Regions from separate parts of the Homo sapiens genome. Here regions 2, 3 and 4 are each linked to region 1. Evidence: promoter capture Hi-C in 16 types of primary human blood cells and fetal thymus (Javierre and others, 2016). All regions are on one chromosome and are shown on one strand. Each heading gives the region's core, a stretch centred on a gene start or on the middle of the fragment in contact. The rest is flanking DNA. Distances are from core to core; before and after follow the strand shown.

Evidence for each region. The method cuts DNA at HindIII sites, captures the fragments that hold promoters and counts their contacts. A CHiCAGO score of 5 or more calls a contact.
Region 2: a fragment that was not itself captured here is called in contact with the fragment with the promoter of IGFBP3 in region 1 in 14 of 17 cell types (M2 macrophages, M1 macrophages, monocytes and 11 more); the score reaches 19.6 in M2 macrophages.
Region 3: a fragment that was not itself captured here is called in contact with the fragment with the promoter of IGFBP3 in region 1 in 2 of 17 cell types (M1 macrophages and M2 macrophages); the score reaches 6.2 in M1 macrophages.
Region 4: a fragment that was not itself captured here is called in contact with the fragment with the promoter of IGFBP3 in region 1 in 1 of 17 cell types (total B cells); the score reaches 5.0 in total B cells.

The regions. Positions count from the first base shown.
Region 1 is chr7:45,919,761-45,922,715 of GRCh38, reverse strand. It overlaps IGFBP3 (insulin like growth factor binding protein 3), which reads left to right and starts at 1,444. Exons shown (of 5, transcript NM_000598.5): 1 at 1,444-1,978. The coding sequence starts at 1,576. RefSeq lists enhancers at 480-1,060, 1,061-1,641. The HindIII fragment of the contact is 8,094 bases long and covers 1-2,955 here.
Region 2 is chr7:47,102,214-47,105,168 of GRCh38, reverse strand. No RefSeq gene overlaps it. Among named protein-coding and RNA genes, the nearest start is that of SNORD151, 360 kb to the left of the region's middle. The HindIII fragment of the contact is 9,690 bases long and covers 1-2,955 here.
Region 3 is chr7:47,037,571-47,040,525 of GRCh38, reverse strand. The region is part of intron 2 of LOC105375268 (a long non-coding RNA gene); the gene reads left to right. Among named protein-coding and RNA genes, the nearest start is that of SNORD151, 430 kb to the left of the region's middle. RefSeq lists an enhancer at 648-1,430. The HindIII fragment of the contact is 444 bases long and covers 1,353-1,796 here.
Region 4 is chr7:47,014,205-47,017,159 of GRCh38, reverse strand. The region is part of intron 2 of LOC105375268 (a long non-coding RNA gene); the gene reads left to right. Among named protein-coding and RNA genes, the nearest start is that of SNORD151, 450 kb to the left of the region's middle. The HindIII fragment of the contact is 758 bases long and covers 1,203-1,960 here.

The DNA of each region.
Region 1 (2,955 bases), core at 195-2,694:
TGGACAGGGGGAAAAGGGGAGAGGACGAGAGAGAGAAAGGGAGGGAGAGGGACAAGGAGAGACACTGGGCGAGAGATCGATTAGGAGAGACAGAAATGATGAATGAAGATTAACTTCACCCAAGGCTTCGTGCTGGAGGGGAATGGAGGAGCTCCTGATTTGCTATTACTACTCCAAACTGCAAAGGGCTCCTTCAAGTCACCTATCCACCTCCTAAGGCAAGCGTCCAATTTCAACAGCGTTCAGGAAAGTCTCCTCCCGCGGAGGTCTCACCGCTTCCCACTCCACCCCCACAAACTCTTTGGAAAAGTGCCTTGAAAAATTTAATCCTCAATCCAATCCTGGACCACCAGCGTCCTCTGTTGGTCACCGAAGGGAGGGGGTGCGCAGACAAAACTGAAGAAACTCGAGTGCCAGAGAAGGCCGACAGGAGTTACAGCGACCTCAGCGCGCAATTGCGCCCCCGAACTTTACTGAAAAGTGTTTAGATTGCAGAGATAAGCTAGAATCCCAACGCATCGAGAATACAGTAATACGAAGTCGCCTTCAAAAAATGACAATGAAAATTGCCTATTAAAGGACTATTTGGTTAATTACGTTTCAGCAGTGCCCAGTTTATTGTCTTTATTATTCTTTTGTCATGGGTGTAAACTCCATTTGAAAACATAATCAGGGAGAATACCCAAGACAAGAAGAACAGTTGTCATTTAAAATATTTGAAAAGCCCTGCCTTAAGGACGCATTCGCTTGCCGGTCCACTCTTAATTGGAGACTTGCGGTGTAGCAACACGTGAGAGTCTTCTTGCGTTGAGAAGTAAGCCTGGAAAGGGGCGAAGGCCCCGGGCGCATCTTCAGATGCGTATTTGTGGGCCCCTGGGGATATAAACAGCCCAGCGGGTGTAAATTAAACCCCGCAGTGCCTTGGCTCCCTGAGACCCAAATGTAAGTCAGAAATGTCCCAAGACTTCGCCTGCCAACGGAATTAAATTTTAGAAAGCTCCACGAGGTACACACGAATGCGGAGCGCTGTATGCCAGTTTCCCCGACACCGGCTCGCCGCAGGGAGACCTCACCCCGAGAGCGGAAGGGGTAAGGGCGGCGGGGTCAAGGAGATCGGGGGTGCTGAGTTGGCCAGGAGTGACTGGGGTGACCGGGGGTGCTGAGGTGGCCTGGAGTGCCGGGGTGGCCGGGCACACCTTGGTTCTTGTAGACGACAAGGTGACCCGGGCTCCGGGCGTGCGCACGAGGAGCAGGTGCCCGGGCGAGTCTCGAGCTGCACGCCCCCGAGCTCGGCCCCGGCTGCTCAGGGCGAAGCACGGGCCCCCGCAGCCGTGCCTGCGCCGACCCGCCCCCCTCCCAACCCCCACTCCTGGGCGCGCCGTTCCGGGGCGTGTCCTGGGCCACCCCGGCTTCTATATAGCGGCCGGCGCGCCCGGGCCGCCCAGATGCGAGCACTGCGGCTGGGCGCTGAGGATCAGCCGCTTCCTGCCTGGATTCCACAGCTTCGCGCCGTGTACTGTCGCCCCATCCCTGCGCGCCCAGCCTGCCAAGCAGCGTGCCCCGGTTGCAGGCGTCATGCAGCGGGCGCGACCCACGCTCTGGGCCGCTGCGCTGACTCTGCTGGTGCTGCTCCGCGGGCCGCCGGTGGCGCGGGCTGGCGCGAGCTCGGCGGGCTTGGGTCCCGTGGTGCGCTGCGAGCCGTGCGACGCGCGTGCACTGGCCCAGTGCGCGCCTCCGCCCGCCGTGTGCGCGGAGCTGGTGCGCGAGCCGGGCTGCGGCTGCTGCCTGACGTGCGCACTGAGCGAGGGCCAGCCGTGCGGCATCTACACCGAGCGCTGTGGCTCCGGCCTTCGCTGCCAGCCGTCGCCCGACGAGGCGCGACCGCTGCAGGCGCTGCTGGACGGCCGCGGGCTCTGCGTCAACGCTAGTGCCGTCAGCCGCCTGCGCGCCTACCTGCTGCCAGCGCCGCCAGCTCCAGGTGAGCCGCCCGCGCCAGGTGCGCTGCGTGCAGCACCCGGCGCACTGGCGCCGAAGGGCCTGGGGGTTGCTGGGTGCCGCTGCGGGAGACTCCGCTTTTCTTCTCACTGGAGATAATATGTGGGGAAACTGAAGGCGCTCCGGGAAAGGTGAAGGCGGTCGCCGGAGGGACCCTCCCCAGCCGGCCCTCTACTTGCTCGATTCTCTAAGTGCAGAGTACTTGTAAATTGCAAAGCGCTTTCAGTGAAAATGGGTTAAAGGTTTCCGGAGCTGAGGGGAGCGGTACCGATGTTTAGCTGTTGGAAAGATCCTGGACACAGGAGATTCTCCTCGCCCCGCACGGGGGTGCACACGGACTGCAATCCCAGGGATGCTTGGGGATGGGGGGGATATAGGCGGATTTGGACCAAGGAAGGTGGGCAGGCACGTTGTAGGAAATAGTACCTCTCTTTTAAAATACTGACTTTGCACAGCCTTTTGGTTTGCAAAGCAATGTCTAGTCCCGGTATGTCCAAAAACAAGTAAAGTGGATTCGGGTTTTGATATCTTCTGCGGTTGGAAAACCTGAAGCTGAAAAAGAAGTAACTTCTTAAGGTTACCCAGCGGCCACAACAGAGTGTAGGTTTGAACTCCGCGTGCCACTTTCAGTACCATACCATTCTTACAACTCGGGCCACCCCTGCACCTGCGCCGACCTCAAACAAACTTCCAGGTGCGTGGTGGGTGCGGGCAATGTGGACTAAGTCAATTTCAATGACACGGAAGGGAATTGGAATCAGTCCTAGGGCTGTCTCCCTTCTTAATCTGAAATGGGGGGGGGAATGAGATGTTGTTAAGGGGAGCCCCAGAAGAGGAAAAATGCAAACATTTGGCAGAGTTACCCTCTTGGCTTAGCCACTATCAGTATCAGGCAGACAGCGACTCTGGTAAGGGCATCACATTGTTCCCTTAAAAAAAGGAGCGGGGGTTGTTTAAATG
Region 2 (2,955 bases), core at 296-2,795, 1.2 Mb before region 1:
AGCCTTAATTTGATATTGAAAGAGGATGTGTTCCATGAGGCTCCAAGACTGTACGCTGTACCTTAGGTCTCTGAGCTGAACTTCACATAAATGAATCTGAGGCCATGAGCAGTGGCTCATGCCTGTAATCCTAGCACTTTGGGAGGCCAAGGTGGGTGGATCACTTGAGACCAGGAGTTTGAGACCAGTCTGGGCAACATAGTGAGACGCTGTGTCTAAAAAAAAAAAAAAATTAGCAGGGCATGGTTGTGTGTGCCTGTACTCCCAGCTACTCAGAAGACTGAGGAGGGAGAATCACCTGAGCCCAGAAAATGGAGACTGCGGTGAGCCATGATCATGCCACTGCACTCCAGCCTGAGCCATAGAGTGAGACCCCGGCTCAAAAACAAAAACAAAAACAAAAACAAAAACAAAACAAAAGAATCTGAGTCTGTGTGTGCAATTGGAGGTGATATGTGGGAGTAGCCAGGAGATTCCAGAAAAGAAAATACTGATTTTTCTTAAAGATTTGTTTTGGTTTTAATTCAATTTTTAGAATATATTTTAAAGATAAAAATTTTTATTGGTTTTAAAAATGACTTATTATCAATAGTCTTGTCTATCAGGAGAAAGGGGAAAAATTAATCTATTTATAGCAAATTGTGTTAGGTTTTATAATTCTGTTATTCCAGAGGGTAAATGTGTATCAAAGGCATTGGAGTCATGAGGACCCAGGTTGATCTGCCATGTGCTCAGCATGATTTTTCACTCTGGGTCTCCATTGCTTCATCCTGACAGTGGAGCTGGCAGTGTTCACACGGCAGAGTGCTGGGGGAGGGAGGCAGAGCTCCTGACTGCTGCCGGTAGGCTCCCAGGGATCTAGGCTCCCTCCCTCCTCCAACCAGAGGTGTGAGCAAGAGGCAGAGTAAAGTCCTACAGCCCCTTTCCCTGGATGCGGGGTCTCGGCTGTGGGCAGATGTAGGAGAGGGTGGGCTTCCTTCTGCTGCCCTCTCCCCTTCCGCGTGGGGAGACAAGAGGGAGAAAGCACACCCTGATCCCCAGGGCACCCCGGTTAAGGAGCGACCTCTGACTGAGGCTGTCCACAGAGGTAGCAGCCGTGGCCTGTGGGTGTCATGGGCTCATCAATCTCATTGGCTGCTGCTCTTCCTCTAGGGGCGTGACCAAGATGAGGAAGATGGATACTCGCTCCACCCACCACACAACCCTGCAGGCAGGAGAGCAGAAACTCCTTCCACTGAGGGCTCTGTGGAGTGGTGTGGCCCATTGGTGAAGCTCGGGAGGCAACCTGCTTGTGTTTAGTCCTGGTCCTCCCTCATCAGAGGTATGACCCTGGTAAAGACCAGCCCTCCGGCATCTCAGCGATCCTGGCATCAGAGGTTGCTGGGGTTGTTTGGAGGCTGTGTGAGTGAATGCACGCAAGCCCGCAGCCCTGAGCCTCAGTCGTGGGCAGCGCGCAGTTCATGGGGAGCATGAGGATGAGGGAATCCCTGCCCTAACCCTCAGTATGGGCACAGGTGAGGTACTCAGTTCACGTCAGTAGCTATTGCTGTTATCAATACCTGTGCATTTTAATAGATGTAAAATGTGTGCTGAATTTTAAAATGGTAGGTGCACAATATTATTTTTATAATTGCTTCCGAATATTTAACAGGGTTAACACCTATTAAATATTTGACGAGAATGTATCTCACCAAAATTTGAATTAAATACCTATGTTTGGCTGGGCACGGTGGCTCGCACCTGTAATCCCAGCACTTTGGGAGGCCGAGGCAGGCAGATCACGAGGTCAGGAGATCAAGACCATCCTGGCTAACACGGTGAAGCCCCATCTGTACTAAAAATACAAAAAATTAGCCGGGCGTGGTGGTAGACGCCTGTAGTCCCAGCTACTCGGGAGGCTGAGGCAGGAGAATGGTGTGAACCCGGGAGGTGGATCTTGCAGTGAGCCGAGATTGGGTCACTGCACTCCAGCCTGGGTGACAGACAGAGTGAGACTCCATCTCAAAAAAAAAAGCCAAAAAAAAAAACCAAGAAAAACCCACACCTTTATTTATGTGTAGCAGAAATAGGTAATTTTTTTTTTTTTGAGATGGAGTCTCACTCTGTTGCCCACGCTGGAGTGCTATGGAGCAATCTCGGCTCACTGCAACCTCTGCCTCCCGGGTTCAAGCAATTGTCTTGCCTCAGCCTCCCAAGTAGATGGGTCTACAGGCATGTGCCACCACATCCGGCTAATTTTTGTATTTTTAGTGGAGATGGGATTTCACCATGTTGGCCAAGCTGGTCTCGAACACCTGACCTCAGGTGATCCACCCGCCTCAGCTTCCGAAAGTCCTGGGATTACAGGTATGAACCACTGTGCCCAGCCAGAAATAGGTAATTTTATTCATAAGAGACACACTTGTTAGGTCCTAAGGAGGCTCTGAGTTATTGGTGGTAGCTGAGTGACCTGTCTAGAGGCTGTGGACTGCAGGGTCCACACTCAAGGGGTGTCAGGCTTGGGGCACAGAGCTGAGCCTGGGCACAGAGACCATGAGCAAAAGAGGAGCCAGTGGCATCTGAGGTGGGTCTGGCCAGGCCACGGAGCTGCAGGAGATGAGATGGAAACCAAGTGCTGGAATGGAGCCAGGTGGGGTTTTTAAAATTTGCTTGTGTTTAATGCTGCTTGCTTCATTTCTACCAGGGAAAAGAGGAATTGCAAGCCGGTTATTTATCACTTTCTTCCTCTTTTTAAAAAATATGTAGCTTAAAAATTACTCTAGTAGTAACTCGTAAATAACTCATAAATAAGTACCTTTTGGTGAACCTTCTTCTAGTATCTCTGCTATGAATGTTTTGGAATAGTTATTTATATATCTATATAGTTTTATTCCACATTTATCTACAAATGTGAACTATATAGTTAGTTAAAATTATGTAAAACACATTTCTATATGTTTTATCACATATATAATC
Region 3 (2,955 bases), core at 325-2,824, 1.1 Mb before region 1:
AAGTAATTTATAACTAACTAGCTACCCAGAGATATATTGTCATTTATATGCATATACCCATGCACATATATATATATATCTAATCTGTTTGTATATCGGTTGTCTATCTATATATCTGTCTATATAACTGCATTAAAAAACTCACCAAAAAGTTAATAGTGGTTGTGTTTAGAAAAAGGCCTATATGGAACTAATTTTTTTTCTTTTATACTATGTGTCTCCTAAATTTGCTCTTATGAGCATGCATTACTTTTTGTTTTAAATAAAAACAATGTATTTTTTTTCAAAAGCACTTTGTCCACCATTTCACATTTATGACCCTTAAGACTTTCTAAAAGTTGGACTGCAATTTAAATAAAAATAGCCACAGCCAAGACAATGGGCATTTTTCCTCTCTGGCAACCACACAATGAGAATGCATTTGATACACAGCCCAGAACATTCCGAGTGAACTAACAGCAGGAAACACACTCAAGCTGAGATCATTAAAAGTTACTAGATGACAATTTGTTCTAAGTTTTGAAAATTAACCCAGCAAATATGATTTGGCCACAAGAGGAAAATATCAAAAAATCACCTAAACCCAGCTCTTCCAATGTTGAACAATCTTTTGCTGTTGTTTGAATATAGCCCAGATGTCTGCATTTTGTTCTTATGTGACTTTACAGAGGGCCCCAGTCATAGCAAAGAAGTTCCTACAGCTCGCTGAGAGCTGGGTGCACCCCAGGTGCCCTGCTGGGTATTTTTAATGTGGTGTTCTTATTATCATAGCAATCTTGCCACACAATACAGGTGTTGTTTTCTTCTTTTATAAAAGAGAAAGCTGAGGTAGACTGATGCTAAGTAACTTCTGAGAGGGTTGTGGTGACAAATGAAAGAATGAAGGTAAAATGCCCATTTCAATGCCTGGGGCATGGTAAACATTTAACAATGTTAACTGGTGTAATTAACAAAGGCAACATTCTTGGTGGGTCATGCCTGCGAGGGACCTTTCCACAACAGAGCCCTGAGATGCGAGATGTGTGGTCAGCAGGGCTCCTGAGCAGGGATTCCCACAGATATAATTTACTTCTTTGAGGCTAGGGGCCATGTGAATGGGAGCCGAGTTCCTACCTGTTCTCCATGGTGGCTGCTTTAAGACAAAGGCCAGCGAGAATCTGATATTGGGGAAAGAGCTTTCACATCAGGAAAGGAGTTAGCAGGCAGAAAGGCAGAATGATTTCTCACTTGGAAAAAGTAAACAAGAACTACAGGACACCATGAGTTCCTGGGAGGGAAAAGGGTTGGAACTACAGATGTGCAATAAAGACCCAAACACCCACTGAGTGCGACTTCTAGCCTTCCAGAAAGCTTCATGTTCATGATGATGTCCCCTGGGGCCACCCGTGGCTGGCTCAGCCTCTGTTCCTGATTTCCTTTTCATTGCTCTCAGGCTCTCTGTCCTCAACACAAATCCACATCTCACCCACTCTGTGCTCAGGTAGGAAAGCACCAAAGGAGATTGAAATAGTCTACTTAAATCTAGTGTCTGTTGCTGATGTTCTTTCCAGAATATTTTCCCATTCTGATCTACGCAGCAAGTCATAATGAAAAGGTGGCATGTGTCCATCTTCCTCAACTTGACCTAGAGTTTGGAGAACGGTAGCCCAGGGATTTACGTAACCTGTAGGCGGCTCACGGCGAATCCACCCTGCTTCTTTGTGCAGATTACAGCAAGCATCCCCCTGGGGAAGCACAGCACTGCAGGCAGGTGCTTCCTCCTCAAGGCAGACCTACCCTGCCCCAGCAAAGAAGCTTGAATTTTAGCTCTCTCTCCTCTCTTTGGCCAGACACCCTGAACAAAAACAGTGCACAGCCTATGCAACTGTACATACTGACCTTAGGTGGTAGAAGCCTGAATTATTAAAAGAAGCAGGATGAATTTATGTGAATAATAACAAACATTTTTAAAAGAGACTGAGGGAAAGTATTCCTGGATGTTTCAAGAAACCTGAAGCAGATTAACTTTTTCCACCTAAACATGTTGCTGACCAAGTAACACAACACATGATCTTAAAGATAAATGGACCCCCACTGGCCCTCCTGATTAATTCACATATTCATTCCACATTCACCTACTGTCTGCCTGGCCCTGTGCTGGCATTGAGGATTCAGGGACCAATGTGGCAGCCGCTGTACTTGTGAAGCATCTCACTTAACCTGGGGCCCATGGACATGACATCTAAGGACATGTATGTGAGTAAGAGTGAGTGCGTGTATGTGTGTGTGTGCATTTTCCAAGAATGGAAAGATTTCAGGAGATTTTAAAGAGATAAGAGGGACAGGGGAAGGTAATTAACCCTATGAGTTCAACAACAAAACTGACATCCAGATGAGCCCACAGAGTAAAAACAGAGCAGGAAAACAATTTGGCACACAATGTTATCTTTCTTGTTCCCATCCCTTGTGGTAACTTTTCTTTTGCTAATAGAATAGAAGAAAAAGATGGAAAGAGTCAGAAAGAACAGAAACATTGATATTCAACCATTTGAAACAAGAAAGAAACTCTAAGCACAGAAGGCAAAGAGGTGAGGGTGGAAGAAATGTTATAAAGCAAACGGCATGGAGTATAGCACACATGCACTTACACACACCCACATGACTGCACAGAACGAAAAAGGCGTGTAATACCTCCTTCCCATGGCTTAGCACATGTATATATGTGCATGCACATGTACAGAAAGAAAGCACGTGGCACACACTCGGTATGTCTTAGTACATAATTACATGCATGCACACACTGAGAAAAAAGGCATGAAGCACCCCACACATATGCACACACACACATATGTCTACATAGAAAGGGGAGAGCATGCACACAGCCCTTCTTGTTGCATTTTACACACATGTACACAAACACGGGGAAAGGTTCATAGTCGGTTTAGGAAATCATTGATGATAAAGGTTATTTGTTTT
Region 4 (2,955 bases), core at 332-2,831, 1.1 Mb before region 1:
ATTAAAATCAACACAAGCCTGAAGACTGATAGAACAGACTCTTTAAGTCTGATAAGAAACATTTACAATCCATTCTCTCTGAAGCCTGCTATCTGAAGGCTTCATCTGCATGATAAAACATTGACCTCCACAACCCCTTATTGTAGCCCAGACTATTCTTTCTATTAATTCCAGGTCTTATTTTATTTTACTTTATTTTTGACACAGCGTCTCACTCGTCACCCAGGCTGGAGTGCAGTGGTGCAATCTTGGTTCACTACTACCCCTGCCTCCTGAGTTTAAGCAATTCTCCTGCCTCAGCCTCCCAAGTAGCTGGGACTACAGGTGTGCACCACCATGCCCAGCTAATTTTTGTAATTCTAGTAGAGATGGGATTTCATTATATTAGCTGGGCAGGTCTTGAACTCCTGACCTCAACTGATTCTCCTGCCTCGGCCTCCCGAAGTGTTTGGATTACAGGCATGAGCCACTGCACCTGGCCTGATTCCAGGTCTTTAGATAATAACTCTTTCAACCAATTGTCAATAAGAAAATCTTTGAATCCATCTATGACGTGGAAGCCCCCGTTTCCAGTTTTCCCACGTTTCTGGACCAAAGCAATGTACATCTTGCATGTATTGATTAATGTCTTGTCTCCCTGAAATGTATAAAACCTAGTTGTAACCCAATCACCTTAGGCACATGTCATCAGGACCTCCTGAGGCTGTGTCACAGGCATTTCCTTAGCTTTGGCAAAATAAGCTTTTAAACTGATTGAGACTTGTCTCAGGTACTTTTTAGTTTACAATAGGATATATAGGCTTTCTTTCCATTGTCATCTCATTGATTATTTCCTCCTAGACATTGCTAAGGTTTTTGCACTGATATCTGCTTTTAGGCATAAGTTGATTAACTGAGATTTTAGGTCAATCTTCTAGATATGAGAATAGTGTGAGAAGGCTGAGTGTTTGCTAAAAGAAAGAAAGTTATCTTGTGAATTGAGGCTATCTTGTGCACTATCAAGCCCACATGTGTAGTTAATATGGATAGAGAAGGGGAGAAAGTGAGAGCTTGGATGAGTAACCCATAGATCATTCCATGAGACTAAGCTTTATCTATTTTTTTCTATCTTGAGCAAACCTTTTGCTTTAAATACTGTTTCAGAATAACTAGGATGCATCTTACATTACACAAGACAAACTGGTTGTATGCATGATGAAGCTTCATTCTCCCTCCTACTTCCAACAAATCCACTTATAATTATTCTCTAGGATGTTGCCTGATTATTGTTGTGAGATTGAAAACTACATACAGTTGTATGGGAAGACCTCATCTCCCATGTGTGTCCATGATTTACATTGTGAAGGCAAAGTCAGCCTCACTCAGAATGAGAAATGTGCCCCCAACTTGATGGCCTTTCTCTTATGCTATAAAGCAAGGGGAGAAAAGATTCACACTCTTTTTTTCTTTGAAACAGAGTCTCACTCTGTCACCCAGGCTGGAGTGCAGAGGCGTGATCTCAGCTCACTGCAACCTCGTCTCCTGGGTTCAAGAGATTCTCCTGCCTCAACCTCTTGAGTAGCTGGGACTACAGGCACCACCATGCCTGGTTACTTTTTTTTTTGTATTTTTAGTAGAGACAGTGTTTTGCCATGTTGGCCAGGCTGGTTTCGAACTCCTGACCTCAAGCAATCCACCCGCCTCACCCTCTCAAAGTGCTGGGATTACAGGCATGAGCCACTGCACCCAGCAGATTCACACTCTTCGTAAGATTATAGATGTCATCCTATTATGCTTAGTCTGTATGTAAATGCCTGAATGACTTATTACAGAGTCTTTCTCATTCTGGGTTACTGTATTTTTACTTGACTTTAAAAATAATAACTCACTTTAGGATGCCAAATCTTTTTAAAGGAGACTATATGTATGTTGGTGACACCTTAAGAGAGGAAGTAAGAGGGAAAAGATGAGCCTGAAAGCTTTTGTGTGAGAACCCGGCAGCTTCCTGCTATCCAGCTAATTATTGTTCTTGTGCACACGGTTACTGACTTCCTTTCCTAACCATTTCTTATAACCCGACTACTAGAACTTCTCAAAGTGTTGTTTCTATTACACAATTAGTGTTCATTCAATCAAGCAATACTTTGGGAAATAGACTGAGGGAGGGGTTAGAATAAACTGTCTACTCTAAAGGTTGTGCCTTGAAAATTCGTATTAAACAGAATAATCATTGTTTGAAACTTTTGTAGGAGATGATTCTTTCAATGGCAGATCTTTAGAGACCCATATAAAACCAAAAATTTGTTCTTTTGCTTTATGGCCAATAGCAGCACATCACAGCTTCAAAAAAACAACACATATGATCTAGAAAATCCATCCAAAAAAAATTTCCGTAGACAAGTAAACACTTACTTATTGCCAGATACAAGCAATAGCATTACGGGTCCTGAGAGAAGTTCTGGGTCACTGAAGAATGGGTTATATAATGTATCTGAAAGAAACCTTCAGAAACCCTACCATAGTGTACCGCCGCCTCCCTCGTGTTCCAGCCTTGAAGGCGGCTACCAGGGGTCCTGCCCACAACTGTTTCACCCTCACCCCAGCCCTCAGGGAGCCTTCTTCCTCATGCTCCCCTCCTATCTTACTGGATCATCCTGTGGCCTCTTTCACAATCCTGGTTCTTTTTCTCAGAGTGTGTCCCTCATTTTTGCCACTGTGGAGGGGTTTAGCTTTCCTCAGTTTCTTGAGTGAGGTTACCTGCACAGTTAAATAAATGCTGGGCAGCCCAACAAACACCAAAGAGAAGGATCCTGAGAAGAAAAAAGAGGAATAGATACAAATACCTGGACCTTAACTTTATTTTCATTGCAGTGCATTGAATCACATTGCGTTATGTTAACTGATAGGATGCTACCTTTCATATGTCAAGCTATACTGATATCCTGCCAATTCAAAGAAGAGGTGGATAATAGCCTT